Linked DNA regions of Homo sapiens: region 2 is linked to region 1. Evidence: promoter capture Hi-C in 16 types of primary human blood cells and fetal thymus (Javierre and others, 2016). All regions are on one chromosome and are shown on one strand. Each heading gives the region's core, a stretch centred on a gene start or on the middle of the fragment in contact. The rest is flanking DNA. Distances are from core to core; before and after follow the strand shown. Region 1 holds the start of TMEM170B (transmembrane protein 170B). Region 2 holds the start of SLC35B3 (solute carrier family 35 member B3).

Evidence for each region. The method cuts DNA at HindIII sites, captures the fragments that hold promoters and counts their contacts. A CHiCAGO score of 5 or more calls a contact.
Region 2: a contact is called between the fragment with the promoter of SLC35B3 here and the fragment with the promoter of TMEM170B in region 1, in 2 of 17 cell types (activated CD4 T cells and non-activated CD4 T cells). The highest score is 7.6, in activated CD4 T cells.

The regions. Positions count from the first base shown.
Region 1 is chr6:11,533,557-11,541,411 of GRCh38, reverse strand. It overlaps TMEM170B (transmembrane protein 170B), which reads right to left and starts at 3,663. Exons shown (of 3, transcript NM_001100829.3): 1 at 3,038-3,663. The coding sequence starts at 3,134. RefSeq lists silencers at 2,710-2,989, 3,000-3,079, 3,180-3,339, 3,370-4,199 and an enhancer at 2,869-3,370. The HindIII fragment of the contact is 5,632 bases long and covers 215-5,846 here.
Region 2 is chr6:8,430,430-8,438,284 of GRCh38, reverse strand. It overlaps SLC35B3 (solute carrier family 35 member B3), which reads left to right and starts at 2,740. Exons shown (of 10, transcript NM_001370479.2): 1 at 2,740-2,942. It overlaps LOC100506207 (a long non-coding RNA gene), which reads right to left and starts at 2,662. Exons shown (of 5, transcript NR_038980.1): 1 at 2,107-2,662; 2 at 254-345. RefSeq lists enhancers at 2,343-2,432, 2,513-2,592, 2,533-2,702, 2,903-2,962, 2,459-3,000 and 2 more. The HindIII fragment of the contact is 10,856 bases long and covers 2,096-7,855 here.

The DNA of each region.
Region 1 (7,855 bases), core at 2,414-4,913:
GTTTAACAAAAGACACCTCTATAACATAAAAGTGCAAGGTGAAGCAGCAAATGCTGATGTAGAAGCACAAATTATCCAGAAGATCTAGCTAACTGATGAAGGTGGCTACCCCAAACAACAGATATTCCATGTAGATTAAACAGCCTTATATCAGAAGAAGATGCCATTTAGGACTTGCACAGCTAGAGAGAAGTCAATCCCTGACTTCCAAGCTTCAAAGGACAGGCTGACTCTTCTTAGGAGCTAATGCAGCTGGTGACTTTATATTAAAGCCAATGCTCATTTACCATTCTGGCGCCCTTGAGAATTATGCTAAATCTACCCTGGCTGTGCTCTATAAATGAAACAAAAAAGCCTGGATGACAGTACATCAGTTTACAGCACGGCCTACTGAATATGTGAAGCCCACTGTTGAGAACTGCTCAGAAAAAAAAAAGATTCCTTTCATTTTAATGAGTATTTTCTTCAATGACAATGTACCTGGTCAACCAAGAGCTGTGATGGAGATGTCCAAGTAGATCAATGTTGTTTTCATGACTGCTAACACAACATCCATTCTGCAGACCATGGATCAAAGAGTAATTTTGACTTTCTAGTCTTATTATTTAAGAAATACACTGTGTAAGAAGGCTAAAACTGCCAGAGATAGTGATTCCTCTGATGGACCTGGGCAAAGGAAATTGAAAACCTTCTGGAAAGGAGTCACCATTCCAGATGCCCTTAAGAACAATCGTGACTCATGAGAAGAGGTCCAAATATCAACTTTCATAGGAGTTGGAAAGCAATTGACTCCATTCCTCATGGATGACTTTGAGGGGATCAACACTTTAGTGGAGGAAGTAACCATAGGTGTGGTCGAAATAGCAAGAGAACTAGAATTAGAAGTGGAGCCTGAAGATGTGACTGAATTGTTGCAATCTCATGATAAAGTTTGAATGGATGAGGAGTTGCTTCTTATGGATGAGCAAAGAAAGTGGTTTCTTGAGATGCAATCTACTCCTGGTGAAGATCATGTGAACACCGTGGAAATGACAACAAAGGATTTAGACTATTAGATAAACTCGGTTGATAAAGCCGCAGCAGGGTTTGAAAGGACTGACTCCAATTTTGAAAGTTCTACTGTGGATAAAATGCTACCCAACAGCATCCCATGCTACAGAGAAATCTTTCATGAAAGGAAGAGTCTATTGCTCTTCCTTAGTGGCAAACTTCATTGCTGTTTTAAGAAAACTGCCATCATCCCAATCTCCAGCAATCATCACCTTGATCAGTCAGCAGTCATCAACACAAAGACAAGACCCTCTACCAGAAAAAAGATAACGTCCTTGCTGAAGGCTCAGATGATCGTTAGCAATTTTTCAGCAATAAAGTATTTTTAAATTAACGTCTGTACTTTTTTTTCAGACATAATGCTATTTCACATTTAAAGACTACAGGTAAAATGTAACTTTTACATGCACTAGGAAAACAAAAAATTCATTTGGCTCACTTTATTGCAATATTTGCTTTATTGTGGTGTTCTGGAACCAAACCTGCAATCTTTCCAAGGTATGCCTGCACAAATATATGTTAAGTCCCTACTTTTCATTTCACTTAAACAAAAACTGGTACAGTTCAAATACCAAACAGTGGATAAATGCAAGCAAAATCATAAGTAAGATAAAGCAGTCTACCTCTAAATTCAACTGAATCATGAGATGGTCTTTATGTCCATTTAGTTTTCCAGAATTATAACAATATATTCCTTACCGGCAATCATCATGTAAAGTCAGTCTGTTTCAAGTTAAATAACCACAGCTTAAAAGTGAGGATAGCATGAAGCAATCCAGAATCTACTTTAACTGTATAGTTTCCATTCGAAGAAACCAGTGTCCTTAAAGTTGTCTTTTGTGGTATATAATTCCATAAAATTTTCTTCTATGAATGTTTGTATTCTATACCATGCCAGACTTTATATATATGTTATATATATGAACCCAGGTTATATTTGTAAAATACTCACAACACTTTAACCAGTTTGACAAAATGCATTTTGAAATACTAATGTTCTACTGAAATTAACTGCCTTACACATTTTCAAGAATTAAATTCTGAGTATTTTTTTAAGATTTTTTTCCTCTGAAAAGCAGGCACTGAGGAGTCACCAAATCGCAACTGAATCTCTTTCTCGTAAATTCTACTTCAGAGAATAATTTTTAAATTCGGAACTCAAAGTATAATGTAAGCATTTCCACATAACAAAACCAGAAGTTTCTTCACAAAGCAAATCTACAGACTGAATAAAAATATTGTGTGTTTTATCACTCACTTTTACAAATAGAAATTGATGTTATAAGGCCAATTACTGACAGCCTTAATAAATGAAGGGAAATACACAAAATTATCAAATGTCTCAGAAGCAGCAGCTGGAGGCCTGAGGGAAAGAGACAGACAGACAAAAGGAAATGGGAGGGGAAGGAGATATATGAAGCTAACACGCTTAGACCGCACTAGACCTTAGCTCAGCCCCTGACCCACTATAATTTACTCAGTTATCTACATCGCCCAAAAAATTAGCGGTTGAAAAAGTAAATCGACCATTGTGGGCAATGATTTTAGGTTCTACATTTGGCTTGAGATTTGCCAGAAAGAAAAAGAACTAAATCAGAAAAAGATGTAAATAGCAAGAAGCGATGTGTGTAGAAGGGGGAGGGGAGGAGGGTAATGGAATAAAAGCGAAATGCGCTCAAGTCTCAGCACTAAAGCTACTCCGCGCGTACTACAGAGGCCGGGCCGCCACCGGGAGCTCTCCCCGTGCGGGGCAGGAGCGGGGGTCGCTGATGCTCCCCTGGCGACTCAGGGAAGGGGGTGGCGGGAGCCGGCGCCCCCGGGACACGCGCAGAGTGGCTCCGATTAACACCTTCCTCGCCGGGACCTGGAGCTCCGAGCGGGGCGCGCACGGGGGTGGGGCGGCGAGGAGCGTGTCCCCTCCCGAGGAAGGAGAAGACAGGAGAGGGGCGGACCGCATCCCCGTCCCCAGCCCAGGCGCGTCAATTACCCGTGAGGTTCCTCAGCACCGTCCCGTGGGCCCAGAGGCTCAGGACCTGCTGCACCGACAGGTTGATCATGGAGTGGTCGCCCCCCTCCGCCTTCATCTTCCCCGAGGGGCGCCCGCCGCCCTCTCCTCGGGTGCCGGGCGGCGGCGGCGGCTGCGAGGCTCGGGGGGCGGCGGCGGGTGCGCGGCTCCTCCAGGCCGCCGCCGCTGGTGGAGGCTGCGGGACGCCGGGCCGGGCGCTGCTGCTGCTGCAGCCGGAGGGCCTCCGTGGGGGGGCCGCTCAGCGTGTCTCCCAGGCAGCCCCCTCCCCGCCGGGGAGACATTGAGGACGGCGGACGGAGGAAGGAGGGGAGGGGGCCGGGCGCCGTCCTCGCGCGGCCCCCGAGCGAGGACTCGGGGCGGAGGAGGCCGCCGCCGCTCCCTCTCAGGGGCAGCGCCGCGCCGCGGGGACTGGACACGCGAGGAGGCCGAGGTCACGCCAGGAGGCCGGTGCTGATGGGCAGCCGGCAGGTGCAGCCCCCGACAGGGCCCAGCTCATCGCCGCCGGAGGACGGAGACGCGGGACCAGCCAGAGGCTGCGGCGGCACCTGCCGCCCGCCTGCCCGCCCTCGGGTCGCCGACACTCGAGGAACCGCCCCCTCCACCCGCAGCCGCCGGCGGGCCACTCGTGCACGCGCACGCGCGCGCCTCTCAGCGCCGGCCCCTCCTCCCCTGCGCTCCCCGGAGCCGCTGCGCATGCTCACTCCCCCGCTCCCCGCGACCCGCCGCCCTCCAACAGCCGGTCGGCCCCAAAGCCCTCCTTCTCGCTCTCCCCTCGCGCTGCAGCGCGCGTGGCTGACGGCGCCGAGCGACGGCCCGCAGTGGGGCGGAGGGAAGCGCGGTCTACGTCACTGGCGCCACCGCCGGGCCTTACTGCTGATTGGGCGCTCCAAGGGAACCGCCTCCACGCCCCCCACCCCCGGACCCCGGGCGCGCGCCCTGAGAGACCGGGAGACCTGGATCCCTCGCCCTGGCCCGGCTGGGTGCGCGCGGTGCGGGCGGCGTGGGCGGTGCGGGCATTTCGGGGGCCCGCGCTGCAGGGGCAGCCCTGACCCAAGGTGGGGCTGCTGAACTCGGTGAGGTGGATACTGTGACAGTTCAGATTTTTGCCTTAAAATGTAATGCTTTTTGATAAAGATGCTTATGTATAACTTTTTTAAAAAGGTGTCACTATCTCAGCATTTAGATATATTAATTTGCGGGGTTTTTTTTCTGAGCCTGAATCGAATGACCTGGATAGGTCACTTACTTGCAGAATGCATGTTAAAACCCCTAAAACACAAACAGACCTGCGTTATCATTCTGCTAATCCCTCTTCCCGCAGCAAGAACTTGGGCCTCCCGGGGTTCCAGGACCTGCCTGACATTACCTGTTTACTCCAGGCTCGGCAGGTGTCCTAATCCTCAAGGCCATCGCCGGCTCTAGCCCCCCTTTTTTTGATGGTAGTATTCTTTTATCTAAGTTGCGTCTGTTATTTTTTTCCCTCGAACTTAAACTAGATCTCTCTCCCCACGCTTTGCTGTCTGTCTTCATGTCCAGCGTTAGCCAGAGGAGCATCTAAAATCCAACTACAAGTTAAACTCCTCGAAATTGGAAACCTTCTAACTTTAAAAAATAAAAATTTAAGTTTTAGCAGTAACATAAATATGCAGTAGCCAGCCCCTCCCCCCACCTTTTTTCAACCCCTCTGCCATCTGGATAAAGAAAAATTTACAAAGAGAAGTGAAGAAATACCTGCTGTAGCTAAATCATGAAGTATATTTGACAAAGCACTGAAGGGTCAAATTACCTGTCAAATGGTGCTCTTGGTGACCACTTTAAAATAATATTTACATACACATTTATTTCTTTGTTTATTTGTATTTTCTTTTTGATGTCACAACATAAGAGAAATTTTTGCACCATTAATAGGAATTGAGCCAAAACTCTTAATGTAGAGTTTATCTTCCTCCTAGAATTTAGACTTAATTAGATCTATTAACAAGATTACAGAATATCAAACCTAAAAGAGCGCTTTAACATTTTTCTAATTTTATTTTACAGATAGGGAAACAGATTCTGTGAATTAAGTGACTTGACAGAGATGACAGCACTTCACAGCTCAGTTTCTGAATTCCTGGTCTATTATTCTTTCTAGCAACCACATTATCTTTCTTAACCCACTGTTAACTCCCTCACTTTAAGATTCTTGATGGGGAAGTGCAGGTTACCTAATGATATTCTTAAGGGACTTGGCATTACATAATTAGTGATGTTAGGGAATGTGACCACATTCAGTGAAGGGTTCACAGCAAACTCCCTGAGCAGGGGCTCATTAAACTCTCATATCAGAAACCTTTAGTTAGTTTACGTTCTTAGGATTGCACACTATTATTTAAAACACAGTAGCACGCAGTGAAAATATTCAGAACCTGGGACAGTGCCTGGCACCTGCACCACAAATATTTGTTGAATGAATCACTGAATGATCTTCATAGAAAAGTCAGCATTGTTCTTGTTCTGAATAAATATTTTTTACAGAATCCAAGTGTTCATGTCAGGAAATGAGAAAGACACAGCAATGAAGTCTCAAGTCAGTAATGTTATTTGCTGCCCAACAACTTCACCCCTGCTGTTCAGTTCAATTTAATTGGCGTCTATATTTATTTGGCATCTACTATCTGTAATGTTCTGTGCAAGGTGTTATCTGTAACATTTGAAGATAAGATCTCTACTCTCTAGGCTACTTAGGTTTTCCTTGATAAAAGTAATGATCTTGACTGTGTTGGAAGCTTATATCCTTAAGAGAATTAGACATTTTCCCAACAGCCAGAGTTATGAAACCCAAAACTGAGTTAATACAAATGAAAGTTTTGGAATTTCTTTCCTACAGATTTTTTATTTTGAATTAATACACCAATTCAGGAAGAGTTTAGTCACGTTCCTGTCAGAAATCAGGGACCACCCCAAGTGAATCCAAAAATTTCCTTTCAACTCTGTGCCCTTCAGCATGAAACAATTCACAAACGTAATTCATAAACCAAAATTCCTGGTTTATTTCTCTCATGTAAGTGAGGGAACACCCATTAGCCTTAGTCATTTTTAAAACTGTCCAGAGACAACCTAGAGGAAAGCTTTTTAAAATCAATTAAAATATAAAATGATATTGATCTTTTGAGAAAAACATTTTCAGGTATCTTTTCAGAAGCACCCCACTCTACTGGTATCAACTTAACGTATTAGTCCATTTTCACGCTGCAGATAAAGACATACCCAAAACTGGGCAATTTATAAAGGAAGAGGTTTAATTGGACTTACAGTTCCATGTGACTGGGGAAGCCTCACAATCATGGTGGAAGGCAAGGAGGAGCAAGTCCCGTCTTACATGGGTGGCAGCAGGCAACGAGAGAATGAGGAAGACGCAAAAGTGGAGACCCTTGATAAAACCATACAGAGCCAAATTATATCATTCCTCCCCTGGTCCCTGCCAACTCTCATGTCCTCACATTTCAAAATCAATCATGCCTTCCCAACAGTTCCCCAAGGTCTTAACTCATTTCAGCATCAACTCAATAGTCCACAGTCCAAAGTCTCATCTGAAACAAGGCTAGTCCCTTCCGCCTATAAGCCTGTAAAATCAAAAGCAAGTTAGTTACTTCCTAGATACAATGGGGGTACACGCATTGGATAAATACAGCCATTCCGAATGGGAGACATTGGCCACAACAAAGGAGCTACAGGCCCCATGCAAGTCCAAAATCTAGACTGATTCAGCTTGATTCAGCTCAGTCCAGCTCCACAGGTCTTCTCATTTCATACCTGAGGCTGAGGAAGATGTCACGCTCTGAGTACATGCCATTCTCATGGTATAGGGCTGGAACCAGGGCTACAATGGGACACTGGCCTTGCCTGCAAAGCCTTGCCTGCAAGTCTTGACAACAGACTCTGAAACACTCTGTTATCAAGATAAATAATATACTAATATAATATTTTTAAAAATAAAAATTCATGCAAAAATCCATGATTAATGAAATACCAAAATTTTAAATAAACACAGAATCTCACCCTGCACTTGCAAGACCTTGTCTCACCCACCTCATCCTTATCCCAGCTCTGGCATGGACAAGAGAGGCAGGGCTAAACTACACAGGTGCATTTAAAGTTCATGCTCAGATATGGGGTCCATGTCACATGCATGTCACATATCCACATTCCCTTGTTTGAAGCAGATTGCATAGTTAAGCCCCTAAGTGAATGGGATAAAAAAGTATATTCTGCCTACAGAGAAGGATGGAAAGAATGAATGGGAGGGGGCAACAAATGGTAATGAACAAATAATGCAGTCTTAACACAGGCTGAGTGAGGTTAAGTCTTCTACAAATAATATATTTCAGCCTATATTTCTGTGTACTTTTTGTAGTTTGCGCTTTACGAATTTTGATTCTATGTGTTTTAGTGAACACATATGTATGTAAGATTTGTGATTTTGCTTTCTTAAATTAAAAATATATTAATTTCCATTATAAAATGCTTTTAAAATTTATGTGAATCTTGTCTGATGTTAAGGTCTTAAGTCCTGCTTTCTGTTTGCATTTGCCTGATATGTATTTTTCCATTCTTTTTCAACTTTGAATAATTTTGTTTTAGGAGTTTGACATCGTATTCCAATATGAAATTTCTAATTTAATAGAAGAACTTCTAGATAATTTCTAGTCGTTGATATAATAAATATGTGGTATTACTTGCATCATAGTTATATTATTATTTCTATTTTTGTTGCTTCTTTTAAAAAAGTATTTCATG
Region 2 (7,855 bases), core at 1,491-3,990, 3.1 Mb after region 1:
GTGGGGACAGGTAATTTGGGATGTGATCCTAGTGAGAAACAATGAGAGAATGGAAGGGAGAATATAGACATAATACAAGAATGTGTTATTGAAGTTGCTGTTGTGAGAAACCAGAACCCAATTTCACTGGGACTTTTTGAAAAACACACAGAATGGCCTACAAAACTATCTTGCTCAAGTGTAAGAAGCAAGAGCATTTATCCATCAGTGACTGTCACCCCTTGGTTGAAGGGCCCCAGATGTGTTGACTTACCAGCACTTCAAAGCTGTGCAGGACAGGAGCTGAGAGAGCTACTGCTGGAATGTGTGAAGTCCGAAGAACCTCAGGGAAGAAAGCAAAGAGGCCTGGTAAATGTGGGAGAGGAGAAGCTGTCAGGGAGAAGAATGTGTAAGATTGCATGAAACTGCCCCCCACAACCAAGTCAGAAATGAGAGGTGATGCTCAGAAGATGTGAATCAAGACACCAAAGGTTTCTGATACTACAGAATTATTAATTTCTTAAAAATTTAAAACCAATTCATAGGACCAGGCGCAGTGGCTCACGCTTATAATCCTAGCACTTTGGGAGGCTGAGGTGGGTGGATCACTTGGGGTCAGGAGTTCGAGACCAGCCTGGTCAATAAGGTGAAACCCCATCTCTACTAAAAATACAAAAATTAGCCGGGCATGGTGACAGGCGCCTATAATCCCAGCTACTCGGGAGGCTGAGACAGGAGAATGGCTTGAACCCAGGAGGCAGAGGTTGCAGTGAGCTGAGATGTGCCACTGCACTCCAGCCTGAGCGACAGAGTGAGCCTCTGCCTCAATCAGTCAATCAGTCAATAAAAAACAATTCATAGCTGCAAGTCTTTAATTTTGTTTACCACGTGGTTATCACAGGAGTAAATGGGAAGTATTGTAAGAGAGTCGATATTTATTAAACACCTACTCTATAATAAGTACTACTCCAGATAGTCTCTCCTACATTTCACATTTGACATGTAAAAATATTTCACTGACATGGTAGTCAGAGAAGAGCCAGGTGACATTTGAGCAGTGACTGGAAAAAAATGAGGAAGCAAGCTCTGTGGACATCTGAGAGGGCAGTGTTCCATGCAGAAGGAACAACAGCTACAAAGCACTGATGCTTGCTGTGCTTGGGGGCAATTAGAAAAGCTCTGAAGTGTAGCTTGGATGTGATCCATCAAGAATAAGTTCAGTCTTAAAAGTCAGGGTAAGAATTTTGAACTTTAATCTGAGTAAAATGGTAAACCGCTAAAAGGTTCTGCACAGAGGAGTGGCATATTCAGGTTCTAATGGGATCACTCCAGCTGCTGAATGCAACTATGTAGAGAAATAAAGGGAATGCAGAAAGCTATGCTCACGGCTACTGCAATTGTCCAGGCATGAGCAGATGGTACCTTGTAACACCTCTTGTACCTTAAGTTGTTTTATACTGCCATTTACTTTCTCATGGAAACCCCTAATTTCTTCAGGACAGGGAGCTCATACGCATAGTTTACGATATGAGCTATACATATGCCCATTTAATAAATACTTGATAAATAACCACCATATAAATGGCTAACAGTAGTACTAAATTCACATTATACAGTGACGATATGGCATCACTGAAAGGTTTTGTCATTTACTATCTCTTTAGGAAATTTAAGTTCTCTAAGCCTTAATTCCAACATTCCTAAGTGTTGCTAACACCAGCCTAACAACGTTGGCAAGTATTAAACGAAAATGTCTACCCAGACCTTTTTTTCTCACCACCAAAGTAGGTGCCTTGCTTTCTTACAAACCCTCGATCCCAATACAAGACACAAATGCTACCCTTTCTGAAGAGTGCCTGTAAAATTTTAAAAGTTGTCCATAACTGACTGGATTCTAACATACATATTAATCCAATTCATCCCTTTCTGGTATTCAAGGCATGCTTTCAAAAATTGTCCATCTTCGTTACAGTAATATTTTCCTTAATTATTCTCTGAAAACAGCTCATCCCCAAACCGTCTTGGTTTTTACGTTATTACATCTCAGTGGTGATGGATGAGGCCCTAAACGCGGGGAAAACCTTTTACAAAAGTTTTGATGGCTGGTCCTCAAGCTTTGAGATTTACCTTCCAAGAATTAAGCAGCACTATCGAAACAATGCTGGCAACATTTTTATGAGGTTGCAAGGACCACGGTTGCTGCAGCTACAGGATGAGTTATAACGTCAGAAGCAACCCAAGCGTTACTTCAGGCCCATCTTCACCGGAGAAGCCCGTATGAATCAGGCAAAAACATAAAAACAGGTTCTGTGACTTTGCCGTATCTCATTTAGATCAAGTAGCACGCAGAAGGAAGACAAGGATTTTAAAATCTGGCTCCAACATTCTCCACTTGGTCGCGTTCTCAAATCTCAGCCCAGGGCCGCTGACGTAAAGTCGCCTCTCTCGTGGGCACCACGGGCTCGAGGGTAGCCGGCAGCTGAAACCCGAGGGGCTTCAGAGGCTTGGAGGCCAGGAGCAGGCAGAGCGCCGATGGGATAATGAGATTCTCCAGCAGATCGGCGCTCACCGACCTACTCCATTTCAGTGGGTAGAGGTAAAGGCTGAAAGGCGACCCTCGCACCGCCCGGCCCACCTAGGCAGTGCCGGCCTAGCGTCTCTACCCCATAGAGCATGCGCGGGAGGTAACGGCCCGCCCGCCACCGGCCACACAGGCCTGTCGGGAGGCGGGGCCACGCGTCTGCGCACGCGCGCAGGGACACATAGGCGGAAGTGGCCTGCGGGCGCCGGAGTTGAGAGTGCTTTCCGGGGAGGCGACCGCCGCGGTGGAAAGTGCAGGAGTGGGCGAGGAGGAGGAGGAAGAGGAGGTGATGGCGACGGACCAGGGGAGGGGGAGATGCTCCGTCTAGCTCAGACGCCACGCAGGCTGCCGTCACCCTTCCGGGTGACATACCGGCCTTGGGGTACGCGTGCCTTCGGGGCCTTTCCTGTGTTTGGGACCCAGATCTCCTCTCCTCCAGAAAACCTTGACACTGCCCATCTTCCTCATCCAGAAGGAGCGTTCGAGGAATGGATGAGGTCGGGATGGAAGAAACGGGTGATTCCCTTTTTTGAAAGAGCGGAAACCGGCCGGGCGGTTTCCAGGGAGGAGCATCTGTTCCTCCTCGCCCGTTTTTCGCCCTCGGGCTGGCGAGAACTCCCTCAGGTCCCAATCCGTGGACTCGCAGGGGTGAGGTGACCTCAAGGGGTCTTTTACGCTGTTCTCGGGGTCTCTGGAGAACTGTCAGTCACCTGGATACCTCTAGACTGTATTTACAGTTAACTGTTTCCTCGTTCCGTGTTTATTAAATAGGGGCACTCCAAGGTACTCTTTTCTCCATTTGGCTTGCAGTAGAATGTGATTGTTCTGGCTGGGCTATTAAGTTTATGGCATAAACTTCCACTAGAAGTTCTGCAAGTTTCCTCCAGTCTTTGCAACTGAATTATCTCTCCCGTCTTTTTATTATTTAAGGAATATTGAAAGTAAAAGATGGAATGATTTGGTGCGCTAACAAAATCTTAAGTGTTGAGTATCTGCATTTTTTCTACATTAGGATATCAGAAGCCTAGAATTGTTTTTTGATTAAACGTTTTTCTAAGTGAATTGAGATAGTTTGGAACTTGGAAGAGAGGCAGCATTTCAAAATAATTTAGACAGCGTTATTTTTACTTAATTACTTAATATATAAAGTCCTAGTGTTAACTTTTTCTCTTGGAAAAAAAAAAGAATAGTCTTCAAACATTAGCACAGGGTTTCTCCACCTTTGTGTAATGATGTGTGTACAAAGAAATGAGATGGAACTTTGTTTTTTCTGTTTTATAATCGTACACCATAGGCCATGATTGATTCCGGAGCGCAGTTAATCAAGGCATAATGGCATGGTAAGATTCTTTTATTTGTAACGTTGAGTGTGGCAAAGTATAGTTAAAATCACGTTTTTTCAGGTTAATGACACCGTAATGACTTTTTTTTCATATTCTACCTTTTTTTGGTGTGGGACTTTTGTCCTTCAGGTCGGAAAACTCAAAAATAAACTGAAATAATTGTGACTTCAATAGGTCATTGTAACTCAACATTATCACTAATTTTAATTTTTAAATATACATTGTATGCCGGAAATGCTACCTTTTTATTCCATTTTAGCAGTTGAAGTTGAATATCTGTGTTGAATTTAGGAAGAGGCCTCAGGCAATTATACACACCTGTGATTTTTAAAATATATATATATATATTTTAGTTTCACTGATTACTGTGAGCTTCAAAAGCAAAGCACAATGTTGATCATTTAGTCTGAAAACTAATTTTAATTCCATGCTTCATTTTTGCTCCTTGCATCACAAGGAGTTTGGCCCATTTTTTTTTTTAGATGATGGTTAGTATCAGTCATTAATGTTTGAAGTGGAAGGGATATGGCAGACATTCCCCAATGATCACAGTTATTAGGTATCAGAGGTCTTTATCAGTCACACTTTCTCACCAGTGATGTTCTTATTAATAAAACAGCATTCTAAATGCAAGGCTTTGGTGGGCAAGTTTTATGAGACTGATGCCTCAGGCAGAGGAAACAAATTTATTTTCATGTTCATTTCAAATGTTTTGTGGGGAGTTTCAGTAGCAATGTCGGTATTTTGGCATACATGTAGAAAAGACAGTGCTAGAGAGATTTCATTCTGCACATATGGCCTAGATCTGCAGCACATAAAGTTGCCAAGAAGTGTATTAGAAGTGGTAAAGTGTTGGAAAGGAGCTGAATAACGTTGATTAAATAAATGGTGCTTGCTAAACTGTGGTAGAGTCCTTCATTTAATCTTACATTTTTGTTATGTGCCAGAACATCATAGGAAGATATCTCTTGCCTTAAGGATTTCATAGGCTTTTAGGAGAAACAAGTATAAAAACGAAAAAGCTATACCATTATCATTTAGGAATTTGAAAAATATGTATAATATGATTGAGTCCAGGACATCAACTCGTTTTTAACTTCGAGGCCTTATTCATGGATGCAGCATGATCAGACTTCACGTTGAGCCATGTGACAGATGGGTCAGAAAGGGAAGAATTGATTATAAACAGTCTCGTAATCTAGGCAAGAGAAAATGGCTGCCTGATGGAGTAGGGTCCGAAACAGATATTAGATATAGTTATAGAGGTAGAGTTAACAGGAATCTTGGCAAAATATAGAATGTGAGGAAAAGGAAAGATTCTTAAGATGACTCCCAGATTTTTAGCTTGTGTTTCATACTAGGTACTGTTAAGTGAGATTGGGAATATAGGAACAAACAGTAGATTTGTTTTGAGGGGAAAATAATCAGCTTTGGCCATTTTAAATATGAAGTGCCAGCAGAGCTTATGAGTAGAGGTATCAAAGAAGCATTTAGACGTAGAGCTCTGGATCTCAGGAGAGAAGGCAGCGTTGGAAATTCAGGTCTGTATTTCCAGCTGCACATCAAAGGGGTGAGTCAGCTTGAGCACACCATATCACCCTAGCAATATTTCTAAAAAGTTGAAGGATGACAGCTAACACACTTATGGACTGTCATATGCCAGGCAATTTTACATTTATTTCATATAGTCCTAACCAAAATCCTGTGATAGGCACATTTTTAACTCCTCCCACTTTTGAAGGTGCAGAACCTAAAGCTCAGAAAAGTTAAACGATTTGCCCAAGGCTCCTCAGCTAATAAGTAGTAAAGCCAGATCTTGAACTCATATCTGTCAAAATTCCAAAGCATGGGGAAAGCATTATGCTATACTGCTTTCTTATACTATTACCTATAATTGTATTGAGTCATTACAATATGCTTGGCAGTTTACTAAATTACAAACATCTCAGAAGAAGGTGACTTTGGGAAAGCGTGACCTTCTGGAGAAATGTTTTGATGCCAATAAAAGCAGGAAAGAAAGATATTTTCTAGAAGTTTTATTTATTCTGTATGTATGTGTAAATATGTAAGCATTATTTGTAAATTTTCCCCACTCTTTTTCTATAAGATTTTCAGTTTTGCTCATAAAGTTTGCCAGTACCACCATCCATTTCAAAAATCGTATCCAAGCAGAAGGTGAGTGATTGCAAGCTGAAGTTTGAGGGTATCAAGAGGAAGGATCAGTTTATTTGGTTCATCTGAATATCAGGTCAGAGTATATGCCAGGTACCAAGGACACAGAGACAAATAAGATTTGAATCTTGCCTTTCAAGTTCTCTTTTCTAATAACTGGGGGGATTAGTGATGGTGTCACAAAGGAGGGGATATTAAAGCTGAACTTCCAAACCTGACCTTGAGAAAGAAGACCTCAGGCTGAAAGGACATCATGAACAGAAGGCAGCGGTGTTTTAAAGTCCCTGGTGTATTTCAGGAATGAAACATGGGTGGTTTAGGGCTTTATTGAGAGTGGAGGGAGAGCAAACTTAGAAACCTATGTAAGGCCGGGTTTATTTGAATGGTGCACTATATCCATGCTCACACATAGAAAAGAGTAAATTGTTAAGGTTTTCGTCTCTTCTACATTCAAGCACAGGTTTGACCAAATATTTAGGAGAGATAATTTAAAGCATGGTTTTAAAAGAAAGTCACATCTCAAAGATACCCTGCAAGATTACATAAAAAGTCTTACAAATGACAGTGATTGAAACATAATGTGGGAAGCAAGAACAAAGGAAAGTGAAGAATAAACAAGAGGAACACAGTAAACTTCATGAAACAACTTTTCTATTTAGAAATAAGGCAGGTGCCCTATAAAATGTTGTGGTGGCTGCATATTTTTAGTTACAAGTGGTATTCAGATCCTTGACCCCTCCTTTAATTCCTAAGGATGACCTGGTTAACCTCTGTAAATTAGCAAACTAGAAGTGATCATGAAGAGGCGACTCTAATTTTGGCCATTTTAAGCCATCTTGTAACAGTTTAAAAAAACATTACCAAAGGAAAACTCACTGTCAAAATTATTCTTATTTCTCTTCGTGCCGCAGAGTTTAAATTTTTGTTCCCACTGGAATTAAAAACAGATGAGTCGTTTCTAAGAAAATAACTTTTTCTTTTACATAGGTTTATTCTATACTTTGTCATAATTCTTCAGTCTTTCCTCAGTCTTTACATGGAGTTCATTTTTTCAGTTTATATAAATCCAAAGAGAAATTGATGGCTTCATAATTTTTTTTAGACTGACAAAAAATGACATGTTTTCTCCAGCCTTTTACATCCCAGAAGAATGTAAATTAAAATGATTTGTTCCAGAGGAAGAAAACATTTTTTAACCTAAGAGATGCTACTGCTGAAGCATATTGTGCTTTCTGTAGTCTCTGATAAATCTAGCTTTTTAAGGACCTTAGGTTTGGGGTTTCTTTGTTTTGTTTTTTTCATTTATTTTCTAGAGACAGGGTCTGGCTCTGTCGCCCAGGCTGGAGTGCAGGGGTGCAATCATAGATTACTGCAGCCTCAAACTCCTGGACTCAAGTGATCATCCTGCCTCAGCCTCCCAAGTAGCTAGGACTACAGGCATGCACCACCATGTCCAGCTAATTTTTTTATTTTATTTTATTTTATTTTATTTGGTAGAGAGAGGGTCTTGCTATGTTGCCCAGGCTGGTCTTGAACTCCTGGTCTCAAGCAACCTCTCTGCTTCAGCCTCCCAAAATGTTGGGATTACAGGCATGAGCCACCACACCTGGCCTTCATTTTTTTAGTTTATTTTTTAAATGTCATTAGCAAATATATCTTAGAATTGTCTTAGTATTTAAAGGAGAATTACTTATTTTTTACTCCTCTACAAGTGAAGATTGACTTTAATGTTGAGAATGTTATGCATCAACTATATATAGACACAAAGACATGTTTAGTT